Linked DNA regions of Homo sapiens: regions 1 and 3 are each linked to region 2. Evidence: promoter capture Hi-C in 16 types of primary human blood cells and fetal thymus (Javierre and others, 2016). All regions are on one chromosome and are shown on one strand. The core of a region is centred on a gene start or on the middle of the fragment in contact, and the rest is flanking DNA. Distances in the headings are between cores, read along the strand shown. Region 1 overlaps TG (thyroglobulin). Region 2 holds the start of TMEM71 (transmembrane protein 71). Region 3 holds the start of MIR7848 (microRNA 7848).

What was found. Contacts are between HindIII fragments. The CHiCAGO score rates a contact against its expected background, and 5 or more counts as called.
Region 1: a fragment that was not itself captured here is called in contact with the fragment with the promoter of TMEM71 in region 2 in 1 of 17 cell types (activated CD4 T cells); the score reaches 5.2 in activated CD4 T cells.
Region 3: a contact is called between a fragment that was not itself captured here and the fragment with the promoter of TMEM71 in region 2, in 1 of 17 cell types (activated CD4 T cells). The highest score is 6.7, in activated CD4 T cells.

The regions. Positions count from the first base shown.
Region 1 is chr8:133,095,737-133,098,436 of GRCh38, forward strand. TG (thyroglobulin) reads left to right here. Exons shown (of 48, transcript NM_003235.5): 43 at 470-637. All of the region lies in intron 1 of SLA (Src like adaptor), which reads right to left. Among named protein-coding and RNA genes, the nearest start is that of SLA, 5.5 kb to the right of the region's middle. The HindIII fragment of the contact is 4,110 bases long and covers 1-2,700 here.
Region 2 is chr8:132,759,178-132,761,877 of GRCh38, forward strand. TMEM71 (transmembrane protein 71) reads right to left here and starts at 1,405. Exons shown (of 10, transcript NM_001382403.1): 1 at 1,299-1,405. The HindIII fragment of the contact is 4,740 bases long and covers 1,187-2,700 here.
Region 3 is chr8:133,045,149-133,047,848 of GRCh38, forward strand. The region is part of intron 41 of TG (thyroglobulin); the gene reads left to right. It overlaps SLA (Src like adaptor), which reads right to left. Exons shown (of 9, transcript NM_001045556.3): 6 at 2,682-2,700. MIR7848 (microRNA 7848) reads right to left here and starts at 1,433; the gene lies at 1,333-1,433. The HindIII fragment of the contact is 6,246 bases long and covers 1-2,700 here.

The DNA.
Region 1 (2,700 bases), core at 7-2,506, 340 kb after region 2:
AGGAATAATTGTCATGGCAATTGATGGCCTGATCGCCTTAGCAATGAGTCTGGACTCACAGAATTGGAGCAGGTCTTATTCTCAGCTCCCCTAAGTGCAGGCTAATTTGATCATAGCTGGAGCTGGTGAATTTCACCTGTCAGAGTCACTGCCTCCTCTTCAACCACTGTCTCCTCCTGCCTTCCTCACCCACCTACAGGCTCAGGCTTTCCCATCCCTACCTGGGGATCTGCTGTTACCTCTGGGATGCTCCCCTGGAGACCATCATTGCTGAGAGTGAGATTCATTCACCCTCCAGCCCCTGACTTTGTCACATGGTGTCCTGCCTGCCAGTTGTCCTGGTCACTTTTTCTCAGTAGAGTCATAGATGGATAACCAGTATTGGCATTCAGTATGGTTAAGACCTCTTTATGCAAAGCAGTGCAACTGATTATTCCAGGACAACTGATTATTGTTGCATCCAATGCAGCTCCTGGCCGTGAGTGGCCCTTTCCACTACTGGGGTCCTGTGATCGATGGCCACTTCCTCCGTGAGCCTCCAGCCAGAGCACTGAAGAGGTCTTTATGGGTAGAGGTCGATCTGCTCATTGGGAGTTCTCAGGACGACGGGCTCATCAACAGAGCAAAGGCTGTGAAGGTAAGCAGGGAGGGGGCCTCGGATGTCTCCAGCTGGGCATTTCCTAAGGGCTCTGGACCTCAATGTCTGACTTGATCAAGAGATATTGACCAATTGCTGAGTAACTACTGTGTGCAATGCCTATGTGAGTTTAGGAGGTGGTAATGGGGGGATTTAGAAATTAGACACTTGCAGGGTAGTGAGCAACACAGGCACATCCACAAATTACAGCTGTGAATGAATCGCTGTGGAAAACTGGAGCTGACCCAGAAGCTCTGCAGCTCAGGGCTGCAAGTTAGAATACCCACATTCTGGACCATGCCACCCATATTTCATGGAGGATGCTTGTTGTACTGAGAACTGAGAGATGATGAGGCAGGGAGATGAAGGGACTCTTGTTAAATCATCACCCTTTCCCAATCCTGAAAAAGACACTGAAGCACCAGGCTTCCAAGTTAAATTTCCTAGTAAAGAGAGCACGCACAATGCACCTGGCAAACACGCAGCTTTGTGTGGCTTGCTGGAGGCACAGTGAAGTGGGAGTGAGCTGGGAGGTCTTCAGTCTGCTTGAATGCACAGTTCCTGCTCTCGCCAGAAGTTACAGCCACTCACTAGGATGTGGCTAACCCTGGAAGAGGCTGAGCACATGCTCCTCTGCCCACCCCACCCTGCCTTGGACAAGCTACTCTTGGCCAAAGCCTTGTAGGTGGTCAAGCCTACAGGGAAGCCCAGTGTGCATAAAGCACAAAGAGAGGACAACTCTGGGCGTGGGTGGAGTGCACCTTCCCCTGCACATGCATGACATGGGTCTCTGTTGGCTCTGTTGAATATAAGGCAGTCTAACCGGAATTTTATTAAATCATGAAAGCAACCAAACAGGATCCTGAGTTCCTTTGGATAATCCTGTTTCCTTTGGGTAATATATTTCACCTTGGGGACTCTATCCTACAGCAATAAAAGCTCCAGTTTTACATGATATATATACAAGAGTATTTATTGCATTGCATTGTTTATTGATTGATTGTGGCATTGATTATTGTGGCAAAAAATTGGAAGCAACTCAAATGTCCATTAACAGGGAAATGGTTGACTAAATTAAGATACAAACAAGCTATTAAATATTATGCAGATATTAAAAAGAATGAGCTAGATTTATCTCTACTGGCTTAAGTGATGCCTCTGACACATTGTAAAATGACAAAAAACATGTAGAGGAATGTGAAATTAAGATAGCATTCATATTTTTAAAAACCAACCTGTATATATCTTTATATTTGTAAGTGTGTATATTTGTATGTTTTTCTGCATAGAAGGATAACTGAGTAAAAAGATTCACAACATGCAATTAACATTGGCTACCTCTGGAGATGTAGAGATGTGAGAAAGAATATTATGCATTATTACTATTGCTGTATATATATACACACATGCATAATGTGTTACATATTATATATATTTATGTGTGCGTGTGTATGTAGAGAGAGAGAAAGAAGCAGGGCTGGTGAGGTTTGCATGTGAAGTTGATTTCTGAAGGTTCCTATCTGGAAGGTGGGTGTGGCATGTGAGCAGCGATAGAGTTCTCTCTGAGGGTGTATGAGTGAGTGTGTGTGTGTTGCAAGGGGGGGTGTCAAGTAAAACTTAGTCACCCTCAGCTTGCATCTAGCTAACTCACAGCCAGGGCAAAATACCTTTTGTACCTGATCCATTTCAACATTTTTTCTGCCAAGCACTCACATACAGCATAGCCCTTACCCTGAGGGGCTGAGATTTTATTATTGGACAAGACAACCATTCAGGAATCACTGGAAATGTGCCACTCTCCTCCACTGCCTCAGAGTTTGTAGTCTCTAAAACAGGGATCCTCAAGTTGCTTCTGATCAAGCCCCTCATCAGTTAAGAAATAGTAAGTTTAGTTATTTAAGTATAAATTATATACATGTGTACTCTTGTACTAATACCCTGAATTATTATAAACCCTTTATTGAATCAAAAGAATGTTAAAGCAAGAGAAAGAAATGGAAGTTCTAGTCTTAGTATTCTCTTGCTGCCCCTAAACACTGTCCGCCCTGGAGACAGTACTCTGA
Region 2 (2,700 bases), core at 155-2,654:
ATCTAGACTTAAAAAGGTTGATTTGTAATCCAAAGAAAATAATGAAAGTGAGGTATTTGATTAAGAAATCTTAATAAAATGACTGGTTCTAACAGTCATTTAGCCCCAAAACAAACTTACGTGTATTTTAATCATCTGACACAAGTCAACTTCATTATCAAGTTTCAAACAGTGCTTGGAGATTGGTGTCTGTCTTTTTCCCAACAACTTGAACCATTGACAGGTAGTCACAGAGAGTGATTTTAATAGTTTTTATCAGCCTGGACATTCCTAAACAGCATAAGTAATGTTGCACTAAAGATAGCATACCATTGGGAAGATTTTAGAACTTAGTTCCCATGAAGACATGATTTAATTTCTCAATTACTAATTAAAAACATATCAAAGTATGTAAATTATGCAAACTTTGATCATTTACTGTTCATCAAATAGAACCAACTTCTGTTGACTATGAAACTTTGTATATAGTATCACTATCCTAATCGCTTTATAAGGTAGGAGTAAATTATTTTCTGATTCACCACTTATGGCCACATTTTGTAACATGAGAACTAGTAATGGATTGTTTTTGTAGCTGTAATTCAATCAATCAAACCAGGCTAATTCTACAGCTTCAAGTTGAATATTTCAATAAATTATATATAAACCCTATTAGGAAAATATAAACCTGGTTTATAGAGACCTGTAAAGATGTCAGGAGAACTTTCTGGCCTTCCTTGGAAGATTTCTAAATCAAAGCACACATTTACAAATTTCATTTGTTTGGGATATAAAATAATCCCAGTGTAATGTAATATATTAGTATGTTACTTGTTCTTTTCATTTTTGATCAATATTGTACGGGTATGCCCAGCCCAAATTACCTTATTTTAGTGTTCCCCAAGTATTAAGCTTAATTTTAAGCCTATAAATCCTGCAGCAAAAGAAGGTCTTATTGCTCTATCTCACAAGTGCTTAGAAGAATCTACAGGCAGTACACTGACATTCAATAGAAAATTAGTAACAGTAGGAAAAAAAAAAGCCCTTCAGTTACAGATCTAAAACTTTTCAAGAAACAGAATCTGCCAGTTCCATCAAAGCGACACATCTATTCTGAAAAATAATGTGTGCATACGTGTTCCTTCCAAAGGGAGTTCCCAGCCTCTTCTTCCAATTGACAAAGGACAAAATTATTACTGAAATACGAAGCTTCCTGTGGTTGACAGTGGAAAAATTGAGGACTGAGCAGTTCCTCGGCTGAAAAATGTCTGAATGTCAACAGGTGCAGAAGTCTCTTAATAAAGGGAATCCCACCCTACCTTCTTCTCACAGATGCCCACGCACATTGCTGTGCACAGGTGCTTGCAGAGAAGTTTTGTCTTCGGCAGCCTCTTGTTCTCTTGTCTGTTTCCTGGTATAAATGAGTGTATAGTTCTTGGGAAAGTCAGTCTTACAACTTCTCTTGTTTTCTTTTGAAAACAGCCTGCGTAACCAGAGGCAAAGAAGCAGAATGAGGTCACACTTCCTGTTGGGCTCACATCAGTGGCATTCACACTGAGGAGTGTGCTGAAGATTTCAGAGAGTTTCCTGGGCCAGCAGCAGGGAATGTGCAGCCCATGTGTCAGGCCAGCTGGTTACACCCTGGTCACTGGAGGGGTGGTTTTCTGAGCTAACTTGTCACCTTTGGCTGCGAGAACGTGAGAAAGACTCAGCGAACTGACATTTCTTGCTCATCATATGGCCACATTCAGTTATAAGTAGTGCAGAGTAGTGATCTTTGTCCAAATCACTTAAATTTATTGAGGATAATGCACTGATGCTATTAAATTCAGAATACTATTAAATAGCAAGAGCTTGATCTTATGAAAATTTCTATAGAGGCAATAGGTTTATCTAATGAAGGTTGGACTTCACAAAAAACTCTATAGATGGCATTTTACATTTACATTATAGTAGAGCTCAAAGACTTGATGGTGTTTATGGGTTCATACACATCTGTACTACTGTAAGTGATAAAAGAAATGTACATTCAAATATATATTCCAGCAACATTGAGGTACCACTGCATAGTGGAAAGAGTGCGGATTCTGGGGTCACAAGACAGAAATTCAACCTGTCTACCATCCTAGCTGTGTGACCTCAGATTTGTGACTTACCCCTCTGAGTTGCAGTTTTCTCAATTATAAACATAAAAATATATATGTCATATGATGGCTTGAAGAATTAAATGAAATAAAAGAAATGAGAAATAATCGAGTCCTCAGCACAGATGTGCAAGGTGTATTCTTTATTTGTTTTCTTAAATCAAGTTCTCTTCTGAGGCACCAGTTGGTCCGGCTGGCGGAAAAGTTAATCTCATCCTTTCCTGGGGTTCCCTTTCCCCCTGAGGTTCTGCCACATGGCAGGATCTTCTGTAGAACATGTTCTAGGCAGCAGGAACTGTCAGGAGGAGGGCCCATCTAATTTCAAAGTTCTCTGTCTCTGGAACTTCATGTCTATTCTCCATCCCTTGAGTGTAGACTGAGGCTGCTGACATGCTCCTTGTAAATAAAGTAAGGCAAAGGTGCTGAGTTTCCACTACCATGATGAGGCTTCCATCTTGTTGGACTCTATTACTTTCTTGCTTGCCTGCTTTGATGAAGCAAGCTGCCATGGTGGAGAAGCCCATGTGTCAAGGAATCAAGAGTGGTCTCAAAAGCCAGTAAGGGTCTGATGCTCCAT
Region 3 (2,700 bases), core at 1-2,500, 290 kb after region 2:
ACCTGTCCTCACCCCAAGGCACCCAGCTAACCAGCCCACCACCACTGAGGCAGGGAGACCTGCCCACCCTTGGGATACAACAGTGATGCTAGGATGCAGCCCCTCCCTCCACTAGACCCTTCTCTGTTTAGATGTTGCTTCCCGTTAGAGACTGCAGAAGTGTATTATTGTGTCAAAGCAGATATGTTCATCACATGGTCCTTACAGGTTTTCAGGAACACAGGTTTCATCCTCTTTGCTTTTTTTTTTTTTTTTTTTTTTTTTGAGTCTGGGTCTTGCTCTGTCACCCAGACTGGAGTGCAGTGGTGCCATCTCAGCTCACTGCAACCTCCATCTCCTGGGCTCAAGGGATCCTCCCACCTCAGCCTCCAGAGTAGCTGGGACTACAGGCATGCGCCACCACGCCCAGTTAATTCTTTTATTTTTTGTAGAGGTGCAGTGTTGCTACATTGCCCAGGCTGATCTCGAACTCCTGGACTCAAGTGATCCGCCCACCTCGGCCTCCCAAAGTGCTGGGATTACAGGCCTGAGCTACCATGCCGGGCCTCATCCTCTTTGCTTTTTGAGGCAAACACATTTGGGGTGCTTCCACATCCTGAGGCCAAATGGAATGATTGTAGTTTGGTTGCAACCTGTAGCTCCAGGATCCATGGTCGTTTTTGGACTCCTTCCCGAGTACTCTCCAAGATGTGATCCCTACTGTTTTGCTCTTTCAGCCCCTGTCCCACCAATGCTGCCACAGCACACATTTGAGGGGGTCCTTGCAGTTATGCCCCCTTTTCCTTTGTCTATACTCTCTCTGACTTATGCTTAGTCTTCTCAGAAATCTGGAGAAGCTGAGTCATCTTTCTGGGTATCCGTAAGAACCACGTGAAAGGCGGGTTATTGCTCCTTAAGCCTCGTTAGAGCAATGACCTGATATGGGTTGGTAAGAGTAGAACCGCAGCCATGTGCCTCGATTTCCTCAAATGCAAAATGAAAGAATTGGATGTAGGCCATGTTTCAGGGTCCTCTCTTGCTCTGGGGTTCCAGGAGTAGAAAACACCCAAGAGACAGAGGAGAAAGGGAGCTGATTGATTATTTGCTATCTCTGCTGGGCAGGGCTAAGCAATTGCCATGAAATCTCTATTAATTCTCAGAAAGATCATAGGAGGTATTGCCCCCAATTATTTTAAAGATGGGAAAACAGAGGCCTAGAGCCCCTATGGGATATGGCCAGAGGCATGGGGCTTGGAAATGCCACCCTGGGGTGTGACCCTTGTCCTCACACATCCCTCACAGTGCTCTAGGCCTGCCGTGAGTCAACCCAGCATGAGCCTTCCCGTAAGGTCAGCAGAACTGGGAGTGTGGTAAGCAGACCGAGGGTAGCAAGTGAAACACTGTCAGAGCTTTGCATACCCAAGGTGGGCCTGCCACACCCACCCAGCCCCAGCACAATGGCACATCTGCCTGATGACATCGTTATTTTTAGATGAGTTACGACACCCACCCTGGGTTCTTCCTCCCTTTGGCCAGGCCAGCTTAGGAGTTTCTTTCTGAGTCGGGGCATCCTGCCTCCGGGGACCTCTAGGACAGGCACAGGATGTTTTGCTTTTGCATTGATCTTTCTGTACCCCAGCATATTTGGGTTTTTTAGAGAAAAGTTGATCGCAGATTTTTTTTAAATCATATATATGTGGTCCCTGCTTTCTGAAAGCAAGGCTGATGCTCATTTTGGTGAAGGGCTCTAGCACCAGGTGGCTTTGGCACTTATTAGGTGCATGGGAAGTACTCTCAGATAGTGTGTTTTCTCTTCTTTGATATTGAATGTACAAGAAGCAAGCCAAGAACTTGAAGATACCTTCTGAATTTTAAAAAAGTTATTATTATTATTCAGTCTGGGAAAACCCTAGCTGTTAAGTATTTGGGGATAAACATGGTACTCTCCTACTGTAAATCTCATGGTCTAGATCAGGGAGCTGAGGCTTAGAGAGAGAGAAGCAGTAAATTAGTAATTTGTAAGGCTAAAATTGGAACTTGGGACCCTTGCTTTGCATCATGACAAAGAGCTCACTCTATTTGTGTTTTTACTGTGGTACTTAATGCATATGATGCAAGGAAATTGTAATGCTAGTGATGATGGTGACTGTGTGAGAGGACACATGTGATTCTCGGAGCTGTCTGATTTAGTTACGGAGCACAGAGGAAACTGATATCGGGACTGTCTGTGCAGCAAGAGCAACACAAATACTATGACATTTGAATCTCACCACACCCTTACAAGGGAGAGGTGTTCTCTCCATTTCACAGATGAGAAAACTGAGTTCAGACAAATCAGTCACAGAGCTTGAGAGCACAGCCCAGGCCCATACCAAAGGCCACATTCTATCTGCACAGCATGCTGCCTACACACTGCGTTCAGTTTTGTTCTCAGTTGCTGGAAAAATTTCCAGCAGGAGTCATCAGGCCTGATGTTGGCCAGGCCCGTGGCAGTGCCCAGCCGGCTCCCCACTGCCTGTCTCTAGTCCCCTTGCTTCCCCACTGGCCTCCCCAGCAGCGTGTGGGCTGCAGGGAGCTTAACTACATTGGATCAATTTGCATGGACGTAGGAGGAAGGAAAATGAAGCCGTGTAATGAGTCAGCCAGGAGCAAAACATGCTTGTCTGCCCCGGATGGGGAAAGATGAGTTGGGGGCCACTCACCTTTCTTGGTCTCACTCTC